2 separate regions of the Homo sapiens genome follow, and region 1 is linked to region 2. Evidence: promoter capture Hi-C in 16 types of primary human blood cells and fetal thymus (Javierre and others, 2016). All regions are on one chromosome and are shown on one strand. The core of a region is centred on a gene start or on the middle of the fragment in contact, and the rest is flanking DNA. Distances in the headings are between cores, read along the strand shown.

Region 1 (2,700 bases), core at 132-2,631, 1.0 Mb before region 2:
AAGTTTAATGTCCATTTGATGAATATGATTCTACTGATCAATAATAAAAATGCTCACTGAATATTTTAGGTCTGTCCAACCAAACATTGTCTGGTAAGGAGAAAAAGGAAAAACAATCAATGGCTGTGTAATTGAAGCTTATATAGATACCTTCACTGCTGCATTAGGACAGGAGAGGTCTCAGCAACAACACAGTCTAAAAGACTGGAACCCTGCTAAAGAATTACCATGCAATAAAATTATGTATGGTTTGAGCTTGTCTGGACACTGGCCAGGAAGGTTCTAAATTACTGTCGTAACCAAAAGGCACTGTTGTAAAGAACTGGTTCTCAACTTGGGGCAATTTTGTCCACCAGGGGACATTTGGCAATGTCTGGAGAGAGTTTTCTGGTTATCGTAACTGGGGACAAGAGTGTTACTGGAAGGCATCTAGTGCGTAGAAGCCAGGAATGCTACTGAATATCCTACAATGCACAGCATCCCACAGCAAGGCATTATCCAGAACAAAATGTCAACAGTCCTGAGGCTGAGAAATCCTATTTTAAAGCAGTACTATCCTAGAAAACAGAATTTGGTAACACCAGTACTCATTCTTTCATCAAGTATTTACTGAGCACTCACCATGCAGTTTCTGTATCAAGCTCCGTCCTAGGTGCTGAAGAGCGTAATACACATAACTATTTCATGTTCAGATGGCCTTGCAAGGATCTCAAGAACAGCCAAACAAGTTCACCATGACTGAAATTTGTACATCTTTTCTAAATACTCACCTCCAAGGCCTGCATTCGTTTTAAGAGCATTTTATTTTCATTGTTCTTAATCTTTTCTTCGTAGAATTCCAGAAATGTTTTTTTGTAGACTAGTTTCATATTGTACTTCTTTGCCATTCTGTCCAAAAAAGAATACTTAATGAAAAAGCTTCCACATGTTTGTAATTCCTCAACTTACTTTTGTACAGCAATGACATCTTCTGGACTTAACTAAAAAAGCTACCACTCCCTTGATAAATTCACAATACAGTAATACAAAATGAATCAAGAGTAACATATCACACCTAAAAGAAACATGCATTCTAAATCTCAGGGGTTTCAGAGGGCTCTATTAGTATAACATAAAGGTCAGGAAGTAAATGAGAGTCTCCGGAGCTGTGAGATGCGGAAAAAGTGTAGGAAACTCTTTTCTACTGATTCCATTTCACTTTACTTGATCTCTCACAGCTGCACTGCAAACAGCTGCCAACTTCCTTCTTAAAGATTCACTTTCATCTCGACTTCTCTGGCAAGATACACTATTAATTTTTCCCCTACATCATGAACTGCTTCTTTGCAGGTTTTTTTTTTTTCCTTTTCACTTACAGGTTTTTTTTTACCCAACTTCTAAACTTCAAGGTTCTGTAGAGTACAGTCCAGAGCCCTACTCACTTCCACCCCCCAGCTATCGGTAGTTCAGCTGTCTCTCATCACTCATGGATTCTACTGCTTATTAGAAATCTTCACCTGCATGTGTCACTGGCACTCTCTAACGTCCCACATCTAAGGCTGAACATCACTGCTCTTTTACTGCCAATCTTTGCCATTTCAGTAAATCCACCTAGTGATCCATGCCATCTCCCCTTCTCTTTTACCCACTGTGCTCAATACACATCACTAAGTCCTTTCTATTTTACCTAGAAAACATCAATTTCAAATAGGTCCACTTCTTACCTCCTGCATTTGGCACCATCCTGCTGCTTCAGTCACCATCACCACTCAGTGGCACCAGTCCATAAACTCACTTTGCTTGTCCCCTGCTTCCATTCTTACTCTCCCTCAATGAATTTTCCAATCGCAGCCAGATTAAGCTTTCAGAAATGCGGACCTGAGTCATGTCACTACCCCCTTAACACCCTCCACTGGGCTCCAGTGCACTTAGGATACAGAACATGGTCTCGAAGACATTCATCTGTAAAGGAATGCTGCCTCATTTTGGGACAGCCCCCGATATAAATCAGGATGGGCCTTCTTTCAACATCTTGGACTAGCCTAGCTTTCCCACTGCTGGGCCCTCACACACGCTGTCCTCTTGTCAGGAGCATTCTTCCCTCCAGTCCTCAGCTGCCCACCTACTTTTCCATCCTTTAGATCCTGACTCAAACATCGATTCTTTACAGGCACCTTCCTTAAATCTTAATTATATTAGGTCTCTCCGTTAGACTCTCAGGTAGTTTTTTTCCTCACTGCATTTGCCAAGTTTATAATCATGTATCTGTAGACAACAAGAGGGAGCCTGGAGATGACTTCAGGCAGCAGTTAAAGGAAGAGTGGAAGGAAGGGGAGAAACCCTGAAAATTAGGTGGGAAGGCTCGTGTACAGGGTGGCATTTGAGGGGATAGGGTAAGGGCAAACACTGGAGGGCCACTGAGGTTTCTATGTAAGAGGTATACGTAAGGCAGGATTCTGTTACTTCAATTAATCCTCCTTGGAAAGGCAACATGAGCAAAATTAAGTCTTTTATTCCAGGCAGTTCATTTTCTTTTGTAAATCTCTAAAATAAGCCTTTAGAAATGAAACCAAGTTTTTTATTCCAGGCAGTTCATTTTCTTTTGTAAATCTCTAAAATAAGCCTTTAGAAATGAAACCAAGTTTTTTATTCCAGGCAGTTCATTTTCGTTTGTAAATCTCTAAAATAACCCTTTAGAAATGAAACCAAGTTTTACACCTA
Region 2 (2,700 bases), core at 169-2,668:
CTTCACCTTACACATCTCTGGGCTACTTTTGACATGGCCACTCCCTCCTTTTTGAAACACTCTTCTCTGGGGCTGTGTGTTTTATATGTAATGAATAAGGATGACACTTCCAGCTCTCTCCAGCCTTATACCACTCCAAACAGTGCATTTTCCAATGGTGCCTTCTGGGTTCACAGGGCCTACAGCCTATTCTCTCTCAATGTGTCATTCCAAATTCTTGGCAGTCTTCAAGTCCCCCTGCTTACTGACTCTGTTTTAGACATCCATCTTTCTGAAACGCCTACTTTCCCCTACTCCCAGCCCACGGGCCCTCCATCTTTTGCATACTACTTTCTCTATAAAGCCTTTCTTAACAAGCCATCTGTCCCTCCCCTCCCAATTATCTCAGGACCTTTCTATACCCTTTCAAGCTTCTAGCCTAGCATTTATTGCTCTTAGATTACATGTTTCCAACTACAGTGTAAATTCTTTGAGGGCACGCACCTAGTCTTATTCTAATACTCGCACATAACAGACTTTATTAAAACAATGAATGAATATAAAGAGCGATAAAACTGCGCTAACTACCGGCAAGAGTTAATGTTTATTGCCCTATCAGTAGTTCTCCGGTTAACAACGATAATATGCTAGCTTAAGACTAATTCTAAAACTAGTCGTAGAAAGACTTTCTAGGATAAAACTGAAGGATGCCCTGCAAAACATAAGTACAGTGTATCTAGAACGTACGAACACATCACGTTTTACAGGAAACAGAGACTACAAATTGTAGACTTGACTACGTTTGGTTTTACAGCCGACAAAGGTTCTGTTTGGACGGCTGCCTCCGGCTACAACCTCCCTGTTTTTTCCGGCCGAAAACATGAAATAGAAACTAGTGCCCTATTTCTCCCAAGGCACCGCCAAACACCCCGCGTCGGGGTGGCGACACCGCAGGGGCCTCGGGAGGCGGCAGCCCCGAGCGCAAATGGAGACTCACCATTAGGAGGGTGAAGCCGGCAAGGTCGGGGGCCGACTCCCCGCAGGGAACGAACATGGTCGCAGTGGGGTGGCCAGCAGGGACTAACCGCGGCCCTGGCAAGAACGAGGGCAGCAAGAAGGCGGAAGCCCGAGACCCCGGAGCCTCGCGGGGCGCGGGAGGGTCCTTTGAGTCCCTGGGCGCCGGGCCCTTGAGGCCCGTCCAGCTAACTGCCGGTTCAGAGGGCGGAAAGAGGCCGCCGGGTGGCCGCGAAGAGGGGCCAGCAGCGCTTTCGGAGACCCTGGCAAGCAAGGCGATGGGGTGCGCTGAGGTCTCGGGGTGCGGGGCCCGCGGGGAGGTGGAGCGGCGGGCGGAAACGATCAGGCAGCGTGCGGGCCAGCCCCAAGCCCTGTTTGTCCGCCACTGTTTGAAAACAGTTGGCGCCGCCGCCGCCGGGGCCTCATTTCCAGGTCAGCCCCCGGCCTGACGCGGCGTTGCGTCCCCCGGGAGCTGCGCTAGGCGAACGGCTGCGGCGCTTTGTGCTCCAGTCGCTCCTAACGCTCCCTGGCCCGGCCGGGGCCGCGCAGTTAGGGCATCTGAGGCGGGGAGAAGCGGCGGGGAGACGCCGGCTGCCAGCATGTCGCTGCCTCCGGAGAAAGCCTCCGAGCTGAAGCAGCTCATCCACCAGCAGCTGAGCAAGGTGAGAGTCGCGGGTGCTGGGAGAGACCGCCGGGCCGACCCATAACCTTTCCCTCCTGCCCGGCGGCCCCGGGCCGACAGCGGCATCTGCTTGCCGGGACTGTAGCGAGGATTGTGGGGTGCGCAACGCAGAGTAGGCAGAGCTTTGAGTTTGAGGCAGGAGAGCGTCCTCGTCTCCGAGAAAGAAAACGAGCCGAGCAGGTGCTAGCAAGAGTCTGGGGCGATAGAACGAGCGGTCTTGGCGTTTTAGGACGGCCGTGAGAATGAAGCGCTTAGCGAGCGACTTCTGGAAGTCGGATCGAGTGTAAGTTGTATTTGGAGGTTTATATTCTGCTGTAAGATATCAGGTTTTTTTTCTTTCTTGAGACGGAGTCTCTCTGTTGCCCAGGCTGGAGTGCAGTGGCACGATCTCGGCTCACTGCAACCTCCGCCTCCCAGGTTTAAGCGATTCTCCGCCTCAGCCTCCCGAGTAGCTGGGATTACAGGCGCGCGCCACCACGCTCGGCTAATTTTTGTATTTTTAGTAGAGACGGTTTCACCATGTTGGTGTGGCTGGTCCCGAACTCCTGACTTCGTGATCCGGCCGCCTCGGCCTCCTAAAGTGCTGGGATTACAGGCGTGAGCCTCCGCGCCCGGCAGATATCAGGGTTTCTTTACCGCTGAAACATGTGGGTATCAGCGAAGTTGAACCAGGAGCTTCAATCAGCAATTCTCAAATAAGTCATGGAAGAGAAGTTACTAAAGGGTTTGTAATGACGGAATTTGTTAATATTTCGGAGCTCCAGAAGAACCTCCAGTTTCTGCAGCGCTCGCTCGACTGAGTGCAAGATGCTGAAGTGATAAAAGCGACCATTTATGGTGCCCTTGTGTGCCAGGCTTTGTGCTGTCTAGTATCTTTAATCCTCACAACACTATCGTGAGAGGGCACTACACTAGGTTTTTCCATTCTTATCGGTGACGAAACAGATTTATAAAGGGTAAATAAGTTGGCTTGAGGTTACACATCTACTAAGTTGAAAGCTGGTAAGATTCCCTTATCATTAGGC

What was found. The method cuts DNA at HindIII sites, captures the fragments that hold promoters and counts their contacts. A CHiCAGO score of 5 or more calls a contact.
Region 1: a contact is called between a fragment that was not itself captured here and the fragment with the promoter of CEP76 in region 2, in 2 of 17 cell types (total CD4 T cells and naive CD4 T cells). The highest score is 5.6, in total CD4 T cells.

Annotation. Positions count from the first base shown.
Region 1 is chr18:13,744,408-13,747,107 of GRCh38, reverse strand. It overlaps RNMT (RNA guanine-7 methyltransferase), which reads right to left. Exons shown (of 12, transcript NM_003799.3): 9 at 771-888. Among named protein-coding and RNA genes, the nearest start is that of RNMT, 19 kb to the right of the region's middle. The HindIII fragment of the contact is 922 bases long and covers 921-1,842 here.
Region 2 is chr18:12,701,441-12,704,140 of GRCh38, reverse strand. It overlaps CEP76 (centrosomal protein 76), which reads left to right and starts at 1,418. Exons shown (of 12, transcript NM_024899.4): 1 at 1,418-1,655. The coding sequence starts at 1,593. It overlaps PSMG2 (proteasome assembly chaperone 2), which reads right to left and starts at 1,099. Exons shown (of 7, transcript NM_020232.5): 1 at 977-1,099. The coding sequence starts at 1,033. RefSeq lists enhancers at 1,731-1,780, 1,791-2,090, 1,376-2,273. The HindIII fragment of the contact is 2,487 bases long and covers 413-2,700 here.